4 separate regions of the Homo sapiens genome follow, and regions 2, 3 and 4 are each linked to region 1. The links are contacts of gene promoters, found by promoter capture Hi-C in blood cells and fetal thymus (Javierre and others, 2016). All regions are on one chromosome and are shown on one strand. The core of a region is centred on a gene start or on the middle of the fragment in contact, and the rest is flanking DNA. Distances in the headings are between cores, read along the strand shown. Region 1 holds the start of DLD (dihydrolipoamide dehydrogenase). Region 2 overlaps COG5 (component of oligomeric golgi complex 5). Region 3 overlaps DUS4L-BCAP29 (DUS4L-BCAP29 readthrough). Region 4 overlaps NRCAM (neuronal cell adhesion molecule).

Region 1 (2,513 bases), core at 11-2,510:
TGTATATACAGTCCGTATTTACTTAGAACAATCTATGAAGATGTTCCTGAGACATCAACTAGGAATAGCAAATTAGACAAGGTAACTTAGGAAAATGCACCAAGTAATGTACTTACGTTCTGGTGCTACTACAGTTTGACAAATTGCATCATAATCTCCCTAATCTCTATATGTGGACGGCTACCATTTCCTAAGGGCAATGAGGCAGAAAGCAAGCAAGCAAATAACCCCTGCTCACAGCAGGAAAATGGGCGGCAGTGACAAAACCTACACTGATGTTTCCTATTCCAAGGCAACTCTTAACATTTGAGGTCAGGACAGCAAACCCAAAAAGCAGCAGATTGACAATCCTGAGTTTCAGTCCCACCTCCGCCGCTCCCTAAAAGCATGACTTGCAGAATGTTACATTAACTTTTGAGAACTCAGGTTCCTCATCTCTGAAACAAAAGGGTTTGATCGCTATATTATTTTTAAGGTCTCCACTAACATAGTACCCAGCCACGGTGCCACATACACACAATTTGGCTGTATCTGGTAAGCAGATTAAAAAGGAGAGTTGTTCTGATAACCTGCTGCAATTAAAGATTTAAGCCTCCAGGAAGTCGTGAGAGATGGCAATGAACACCAGTTGAAAGCTGCCAACACTGACAAGACCTTAGGGGAATTCCGAGGGCTATCTGTTGGAGCTGACTGGATCTAAACCATTCAAGAAGTGACCCCAGGGTTACCTGCCCACTGCATAAACTTAGGCCACTCAGGGATCAGAATTAGGATGAGAAAAAGGCAAATGGTATAAAAAGCCAGACTATACGGGACATGGGTGGCTTACACTTCCTCCAAGGTAGAGGCCTATGTGTGACCGGGATGGCCCTCGGCCCAGGCTTGGGGGTGTGGCATGTGTGACCGCCGGCCGTCACACAACCCGAAAGGACTCGCCACAGCCTGGGCCCAGCCCCGTCCCTCGCCTGCTGCAGGATGAGCGGCCACCTCGGAGCCCAGGGCCGGGCTGAGCCAGTGCAGAGGCGGGGCCAGGGGTGGTGCGGCCCAGGCGCCCGCCTCCGCCAGCCCAACACGGTTAAGCCGCGTACCGGACCCACTGAGCGGGACCTTCCGTGCCTCTGGCTCAACACGACCTCACCTACTCGGCCCTCACCTTGGCCAAGGAGCAGTACACACGACTCCAGCTCTGCATTTTTCCGCTGTATTTTCCTTTCCGCCAATACTTTCACCTCCGCTGGGCGCCTCCGCCGCTCCGCCAAGGTCTCCCCTCCCTGCGCATGCACAGGCGCAGCCTACGTCATCACCCGGGAGCAGCGCGATTGGCCCGCGCGGTTCTACCGCACGAGGCGTTCCTGTCAGGCTCGGCGTCGTACGCTGTCGTAAGGAGCGCAGGGCTTTGTCGCAGCGGGGGTGGTGGTGGGAATGCTTTAGGGGCTGGTGCCAAAATGTCGAGCTACAATGTATTCTTATACTTAGAAGATGAAATAAACAAATAAAACTAGCGTTTGCTTAATGCACATTATCGACAGTAAAGCGTGACAAGTTCAACAAGCTCTTGGTTGTGCTAGGCATTCCTCGGCACTTCCTACAGACATCTCATTTCATCCTTGCAACAACCATATGGAGTATTATTAGTATTTCCATTTCTTGGATGAGACCCAGAGAGGTTAAACAGTGCCCCCAAGGTCTCACAAAGGAGAGATAACTGCGGCCCTGAGGCCAAAACCTTTGGTATTATCTACTGCTTTATACTCGCTCCTCTCAAATGCCATATAAGGGATGGGGCTACAGATTTTGGCATCACCAGCATTCTGCTCTAATTAGCTAACTGACAATACGTAGAGAACACACTTTCTTCTATTTCTTTAGTTGAGAAACACATCTCCCTGGTAAAAAGAGAGTGGGATGGTGGATGAGATTTTAGGTTTTGAGAGAGAATCTGTTGAAAAGGGTTGAAAAACATTGTCTTCAAGATTGAGCACGAAAGTCTAAGGTCTCATTCTTGCCTTGCAATAAGTCTATATAGTGTGAATAAACTTAATTCTACATTTATTGGAAGTCTACCACCCAGGCCTTGTGCTGGGCTAAACACTGGTTAGAAATTACTGCCTATGTTCAGATTTAGATATGAATAATTAAATTTAGTGTTTGTTATAGAGACGGTATTGCTGGCAGCTCTGTCCTGTGACAGGGTCCCAGGCTCCTTTTATCTCGTGACTCTGCCATCATCAGAGCTTGCCTTGCATCTTTCATTCAAGATGGCTGCTCCAGTTTCTACAATCATATCCCCTCATTCCATCTGATTACAAAGCCACACCTAGCTGCAAGGGGATCTGTGAAACATAGTCCTGTCAGCTGAGTGCCTAACTGAAATTGTATTAATAAGCAAGATGAGATGAAGCGAAATTGGGGGACATTGAGCAGCCTCCACCACACAGATGGGGAGAATTGTCTCCTCTCCAGCTTCATGGCAGTCTTTGACATCTGGTCTAGGAGTTACTGCTCCATATGCA
Region 2 (2,513 bases), core at 7-2,506, 420 kb after region 1:
ATTACAGACCGGGTGCAGTGGCTCTCACCTGTAATCCCAGCACTTTGGGAGGCTGAGGCGGGTGGATCACTTGAGGTCAGGAGTTCGAGACCAGTCTGGCCAACATGGTGAAACCCTGTCTCTACAAAAAATACAAAAATTAGGCATGGTGGCACAAGCCTCTAGTCCAGCTCCTCGCGAGGTTGAGGAATGAGAATCGCTTGAACCTGGGTGGCAGAGATTGCAGTGAGCTGCGATTGCACCGCTACCCCTCCAGCCTGGGCAACAAGGTGAGACTAGGTCTCAAAAAAAAAATAATAATAATTTCAGATTATCAATTTATGAAGATCCTTGTTTCCGTAGTAACACTCACACTTGTGCATTTAATATATTTTGTGCAATTAATATAACCTTTATATACTAACCTAGGAGAGCAGTTTGACTTCCTAATAATAACTAAGCACTAGATATGATTCTAACCCCAAAATACAGCTCAATTAAAATCCTTTTTTAAAAGTCGTGCTTTTCTTTTTAGTTATAAATATTTTAATTGCATATCTGTTTTAATTCCTCCTATGGGAAGTCTCTAACTAATTTTATGTATTTGTTTTCTTAAATTTTGACAACCGTGACTATGACAGAGTAATTTATTGTATATTTACATTGTACTATTCATATCAAATCATTCTTACCCAGCTTGTGGCTAGTTCTGATGCCACAGTTTTGAAGATTCTCTGAGTTTGTAAATAAAAACTCAGCTTTGTGAAATATTGGAATTCACCATAACTGAAAGTACTTTGAAACAATTTTAAGGTATCTATGTACAAACAATTTTTAATTGCTGAAAATCAGTTTTAAGCTGTATTGCGACAAGGGTCCTTTTTCAGTGGATACTTAGCGTAGTAAACCTTGAACTCTCTCTGATACTGGAGCCCATAGAAAAAAGGTTTATTTTGCTTTAATGCCAATTCAGAGATTTTATTTGGCTTCTCAACTTTACATTTCTTTCACAACAAATACTTTATCAGAAAAATAGAAATGGACCATCTGCTGAACTTCCATCAAGTGGGGAGTAGCAGAAGTCGTAGAGAATCAACAACATTGGTGATTCATTTTCTATATGAGAATAACTGAATACTGATTATATTTGATAAAGCACATGCATCAGAATTGCATACACTTAACAGATAGAAAATCCAAAGCCATTCTTTCCCATCCTTCCCTACTTCACCTAAATTGGGCATTTACGTTTTTTTCATTTTTATTTTTCACACTGTGTTTGTAAGTCATTTGCCAGTATCACATACATTATAAAAGTAAATACATGGCATTTCTTGCCATTTTTCCATCCATACCTACACTTTGGATCCTGTGACTATTATTACAATTTATCCTCCCTCTGTTGCACAACTGTTGGCATGTCTACTTTGGGGCTTTGTCCAAATTATTACCTTCATGTCCAGTTTTCTGGTTTACTGTTTTGACTGCTTACTATCCCTCTTTGCCTTCCTAAATATTATGGATTTTATTGATGTTTTTCTCTTATATTTTCATCAAGGAACTACACAAATAGCCATGTTTGTGCTCCATCACCCCATTGATTTCTCTTTTCTCTTGCTTCCTTTTTTTCTTTGCATAATTCTCTTACTCTTAAGTTATGCAGAATCAAATTAATTTTGTGTCCTGAGGCCAAGTCCATTGATCAACTAGATTACATATTTAACAAAGCTGTGTCAAGTCCCCTGTTTTGTGCTGTTATGACTCTTATGCTGTGCTGGGGGACATAGCTGACTGTCTACAATCTAGTGCTCTGTTATTGATACTAGTTAGATACATAACATTTTTGTAAGAAGGCTGCCATTCTTTATATAAAGAGCCTGAGAATGGCAGAGTTTTACTATAGGCTGTAGTTCTACTATAAACTCAGTAACATCCACTATACTACTTGAGTCATCCATTTGGGAAAATGAATGCATTTTAAGAGTTTAATTAATAATTCTTAAAGACTGTAATCACTGGTGTCTTTCTGCCAGGTATATTCAGCAGTGTTTCTTCAGTTACTCCTACCTTCTGATCTCTGTTTAGGGGTGCAATATCTATAAAAAGTCCTGCTGTTATTTTGATTGGTATTGCAGAGAATCTGTAGATCAGTTTGGAAAGAAATGACATCTTAACAGTATTGAGTCTTCTAACTTATGAACATAGTATCTCTACTATTTTTAGGGCATTTTACATTTATTTCGTCAATATTTTGTAGTTCTTGGCCTACAGATCCTGCACATATTTTGTTAGATTTGTATTTAATTATTTCTTCAGTACTGTTGAAGTAGCACCTAATTTTTTAAAAAAATCCAATTGTTTATTGTTAGTATATGTAATTAGGATCATATTGAACTCATATCCTGCAACTTTACTAAATTCATATATTAGTCTTGGGAGTTTTTTGTGTGAATTCCATGGTATTTTCTATATAGACAATTGTCTGCAAATAGAGATAGTTTACTTTTTCCTGAAACATGTGAGACTTACTTATA
Region 3 (2,513 bases), core at 10-2,509, 290 kb after region 1:
AAAGTTGGAATACAGCCAATTAATTAGATAATTCAAGCCAAAAAACTACCGCCCTAGATTACCTGGGTATTTGGAAGAGGTTTTTTATTTTTATTTTTAAATTCTTTTTACAATAAAAAGCTATCTTTTTCATTAAGCAAAAGAAATTCATTGTAGAAAATAATTTAAACTCTAGGAAAAAGTCATTTGTTGTACATGCTAAGGAAAACCACTATTAATAGTTTAGTGTTTTTTCCTAATTGAAAGTGTTTTAAAACTAGAGTTGTACAGTTTAATTTTTGTAACTCACTTGGCCATAAACATGAACCTGCCATAAGCTGATATCATTAGAAAAGTATTTACCATGAAGGATTGTAGTAAACATGCATATCTAGGTATGGAATAAGACAGTAGAAAAGAACACCAAGGCATTCAAAGTAATTATCTCCTTCGATCTTTTAGGGGCTACATCAATGGACCCCTCAACCATACAGCACAATCATTCACTGCACCTAGTGTGACACATCGACTTCAAACAGACCACTCTGCTTTTTGCTTTGCTCTTCTCACTCAGAACAGTAGTATCATTTCACTCATTTTTCTGCCATTCTATGTCCATCAACACATTTAGAGAATTGTGCTTGATTACATCTTTAACACCTGGAACATTCCTTGATTCAGTATGCATTTAGCACTCTCCACTCATGTTTTTGGTAGACTAGCCCATGTTTCACACTGGGGAGGAAATGAATCCCTTTATGGACATATGTTTGGTTTACCATCTGGACTACAAGCTCTTCTGAGAACAAACTGTTTTCTCTTGCTTTAATGTCCCTCTGTGGAGATTATAAAAGCTTCTCCTCAGGGTAGATATCGTTATGTTTGCTAGTACTGTGAATAATATATAAGGTATCTTTGAATTTCTGTCTTAATATCTTCCCTATAGCTATTCCTCCTGGTTACTGAAAGACACATAGTTTATGAGTATAGGCCTTGATAACAGATAAGAAGCTCACAAGAAAGGGAAACATCACAACTAAATGGGAATGTAACAGGGAACCAAACAGGATGCAATATCATCATTATATATTAGTCCAAGAAAAGTACTCTGATAGCAAGCAAACCCTTTTTTCTGTTTTGACAATAACATCAATATGTGAAGATAACACAGAGATGAACTAATAAATACTAATAAATCCTTTATTTACCTAACTAAAAGGATTGGTCATGAGTTTTATTTACTTTAAATAATTAAAATACTATTAATTATATATTGCCTACTGGCACAACCATCAAATAAACTATATTATTCTTTCTTAATGCAGTTTTTTTTTTCAGTTGATACAAGAAGGGACAAAGGTGTCAAAGAAACAGAAACTTCCAGACATGAAAACAAATAATATGTTTTTTTCTTATTTAAATCACAAAAGTGCATTAAAAGGCAACAAAGCAAAAAAAAAAAAACAACAACAACAACAACAACAAAATGACTAAAAACAGCAAACTGTTTTTAAGCATTAATAATTTTAAAATAAGCTGGGGGCTTTGATATAACTGTAAGTAAAAGATAACTAAGTTCACGTCCACAAAAATTTACAACTGTAAAACATGCTTAGGGTAAACTTAGAATTTATTTTTAGATGAATATATGGTTCATTTGTAAGAAACTGGAAATCATATGGTTTTAAACTTGTATACAAAGCTTATGTCTTATTCTTAACACTGAAGAGGCAGGAATTTAGGGTTTTGGGTATACAGATCAGCAATTCCCCTGTAATTTTCTATCTTGTCTTGATCTCCAATTTCTCTGGAAAAACACTTCAGCTATTTTTCACTATCTGGTCCCTATGTTAACTGGCAATAAAAAGTAAAAAAAACTTAACATCTTCAAGGGTATCAAAGTTGGTCTGCAAAAGGTAATTTTAGTTTTGTTCAACGTAAGTCAAGGTGATATGAAAGCATTTATCCAGGAAGAGAGTTGAATTATCATTATTTTAAGTAGGGGACTAAGGGTTCTGTTTCCTGGTCCAAATCTAGTATCTCTATTGCGTGCTGCTAATACTTAGGTACCCATAATAGGTCTTTACACTCAGTTTCTGATTGTTAGTATATGCTTTAAGAAATTTATTTAAAGTTTGCTTTATCCTCAAGAGGCACACTTTTTAAGGAAAGTGTTAATTATGCTCCACATTAAATGACTTTACAACGACTGAATTACTTGAAAAGTTCTTTTAAAAATTGCTGAGGCCCAGGCACAGCAGTTCATGCCTGTAATCCCAGCGTTTTTGGAGGCTGAGGAGGAAGGGCTTGAAGCCAGAAGTTCAAGACCAGACTAAGTAGCAAAGCGAGACCCTGTCTTTACAAAAAATCAAAAAAATTAGGCGGGCATGGTGGTGCACACATGTAGTCCCAGCTACTCAGGAGGCTGAGGCGGGAGGATCTCCTGAGTCCAGGAGTTCGAGGTTGCAGTAAGCCAAGACTGCACCACTGCACTCCCACCTGGGTGACAGTGAGACTCTGTCTCAAAAAAAAAA
Region 4 (2,513 bases), core at 8-2,507, 260 kb before region 1:
GTAAATATATATTCTATCGTATTCATAAACAATATCTATCAAATGGGTTACCTCCAAATATGAAAATCTATAACAACCTATGGTTGAAGGAATGCTCAGTTTCATTTGCCAATAAATTGGTTTCTCATAACTTGCATCAAGTTTAATTTTAAGTAAAGCTTTTTATATGTAGATATTTTGTTGAATTTGTAAATACACTTAAAATGTAGATGCTATATGCTTATAGGTGTTACATACAAATAAACATGCAATGTTTATGTTGTACTGTATAAGAGGTAAGCTAATTAATGCAGTGAATGGGATTGGAAAGCATCTACTTAAATATCTATTGGGTTCCCCCCTCCCCCCACCTTTTTTGCTGTGAAACTGAAATAGTGAACTTTTCTACGTATTGACAGCAGATTTTTCGATGAAATCTTCAGAGCTTTGCCTATGGGGCACAGTAGGCCTAGTAACCTGGCATGTTTGATATATGTAGGTAAAGCATAATTTAAAGTAATCCCAGGTAAAGATGGCCCTAAATACTTTCATGTCTCTATATTCATTTTTCACAGATCCACCTGTCTCTTGAAAATATAAAAAGACAAAACAGGTTTGCCTTGGCATCAGAGAGCACAAAGATTAAAAGTTACTTTAAATTTGCCAATATTTTGGGAGAACAATAAAACTACATTTTTTCCTCTTCCATACTGGTAGATGCGAAATTTATCTGTGCATGAAAGGGTCACTTCTGTAATAGTGCAACAGATTTGGTATTAAAAATTAAATGTGGTTTTAAAAGTTCCTCTCTCTTTTGTAATTTATGTTCCCAATTGAGTGTGAATGTCCAAGTAATGGTGTATGTAATGGTACAGGCAAATGTGACTGGATTTCCCTCAAAAAAGTAACTATTAAACAGTCTTGATCTCTTTGTGACTTTTAACTTTTTCAAACATATATTGCCTAATGTTTTAAAATGGTGAAAAATTTTATTTTTTACTTTCAAAAGGCTGTTCTATGCAGAGAAAATTAAAACAAAATATAAAACAGATCTAATAGGACATATCAAAAACATTTGAATGAAAAACAGGACTAGATATTCCCAGCCTTTTGAGAAAAGTTCAAGAAATCAGGTGGTGCCTCCTTTCCCAAAGCCTGGCTCCTGGTGTCTGCCTGGGCCCGGCGCTTCTCTTCTGCTTGCCTGGACTCTGCCCTCCCGAATCACAGGCGACTTAGATTTCTTAACTCTCCTGTCTGAAGAGGGACACTACAGGTATCGAATGTATGTCACCCTCTCCCTTCTCTCCACCCCCATGCTTCTAATCTTCTCAAACCCTCTGGCAAACAGCCAAGCCCTGGCGTGTTCCCATGTTCCACCACCTGCCCCTTATTCTCCAGCCCCCTAGTCCCAGCATCACACTGACAAGACCTCCTGCTGGCTCAGAGCTGCCCTCCTCCATGGTGATTTGCATCACATGTTATATAAGTGAACCTTAAAGTGCTATGTAGAGCTTGGTGTTTCCACCTGGAGGGCATGTCTGTCACTCACTTCAGAACAGCACTTCAGGGCCTCTCCTCCCCTCTACAACGTCCGCCAAATTCACAGTCCATAGCTTTGTCCTCATCATCAGTCCTGGGGCTCTTTAGCAAAAAGGGTCTGGAGAAATGCAATCTTGACCCCAAAAAGCATTGGTCCATTGATGGTATGAACTTTCTTGTTCAGATGGCTTACAACAGGCCTGGTTTACCTCTAATGGCTGATTTTGTTTTGTTTTGAGACAGAGTCTCATTCTCTCACCCAGGCTGGAGAGCAGAGGCACTCACTGCAGCCTCTGCCTCCTGGGTTGGTTCAAGCAATTCTCGTGTCTCAGCCTCCCAAGTAACTGGGATTACAGGTGTGTGCCACCATGCCCGGCTAATTTTTGTATTTTTAGTAGAGACAGGGGTTTTGCCATGTTGGCCAGGCTGGTCTCAAACTCTTGACCTCAAGTGACCTACCCACCTTGGCCTCCCAAAGTGCTGGGATTAGAGGTATGAGCCACCGCGCCCCGCAATTTTGGAAAAGGCTTATGGAGGCAAGGGAAAAGAATATGAAGAATTCTTACCCAAATTAAGCAAATCCCTCCCGCTCAGGAAATTTTCCTACAGATTACCACCAGAGGGCTCCCCTGCTCTATGCAGTGTGAGAGAAACCTGCTTGCAGGAAAAAGTGGCCTCTGGACACAGTGCAAACCAGTTTTGATAATCAGCTTGTGATCTGATCATGCAAAAAATGATTGCCTGCTGCAACAGGGGAAAATGGGATTTGCAGCTTTCTCTGACGAGTCCACAGCATCCAGGGAGGAAGCATGTGTCCCTGTGAGCCTTGTTAAGCTTCTTCCTCTTAATGATTGTGGCCCGGGAGGTTCGGTATTGGGAGAGGAAGGAGGAGTGTGCCTCCTGGGTCCTACTAAGCATCCCTATCACGGCTGCAAGTCGGTAGGGATGAGGAGAGGCACGTCATTAAAATGGCATCTCCCTCTTCTCCAGAGTAT

Evidence for each region. The method cuts DNA at HindIII sites, captures the fragments that hold promoters and counts their contacts. A CHiCAGO score of 5 or more calls a contact.
Region 2: a contact is called between a fragment that was not itself captured here and the fragment with the promoter of DLD in region 1, in 4 of 17 cell types (naive CD8 T cells, activated CD4 T cells, erythroblasts and 1 more). The highest score is 6.1, in naive CD8 T cells.
Region 3: a fragment that was not itself captured here is called in contact with the fragment with the promoter of DLD in region 1 in 1 of 17 cell types (erythroblasts); the score reaches 7.4 in erythroblasts.
Region 4: a fragment that was not itself captured here is called in contact with the fragment with the promoter of DLD in region 1 in 2 of 17 cell types (M1 macrophages and M2 macrophages); the score reaches 6.8 in M1 macrophages.

The regions. Positions count from the first base shown.
Region 1 is chr7:107,889,930-107,892,442 of GRCh38, reverse strand. DLD (dihydrolipoamide dehydrogenase) reads right to left here and starts at 1,260. Exons shown (of 14, transcript NM_000108.5): 1 at 1,154-1,260. The coding sequence starts at 1,192. RefSeq lists a silencer at 920-1,029 and enhancers at 1,090-1,329, 840-1,522, 1,480-1,559. The HindIII fragment of the contact is 5,175 bases long and covers 1-2,513 here.
Region 2 is chr7:107,465,145-107,467,657 of GRCh38, reverse strand. The region is part of intron 6 of COG5 (component of oligomeric golgi complex 5); the gene reads left to right. Among named protein-coding and RNA genes, the nearest start is that of GPR22, 3.7 kb to the left of the region's middle. The HindIII fragment of the contact is 3,987 bases long and covers 1-2,513 here.
Region 3 is chr7:107,603,616-107,606,128 of GRCh38, reverse strand. The region is part of intron 11 of DUS4L-BCAP29 (DUS4L-BCAP29 readthrough); the gene reads right to left. The region is part of intron 6 of BCAP29 (B cell receptor associated protein 29); the gene reads right to left. Among named protein-coding and RNA genes, the nearest start is that of BCAP29, 25 kb to the right of the region's middle. The HindIII fragment of the contact is 848 bases long and covers 836-1,683 here.
Region 4 is chr7:108,146,046-108,148,558 of GRCh38, reverse strand. It overlaps NRCAM (neuronal cell adhesion molecule), which reads left to right. Exons shown (of 33, transcript NM_001037132.4): 33 at 1-910. Among named protein-coding and RNA genes, the nearest start is that of LAMB4, 17 kb to the right of the region's middle. The HindIII fragment of the contact is 2,194 bases long and covers 161-2,354 here.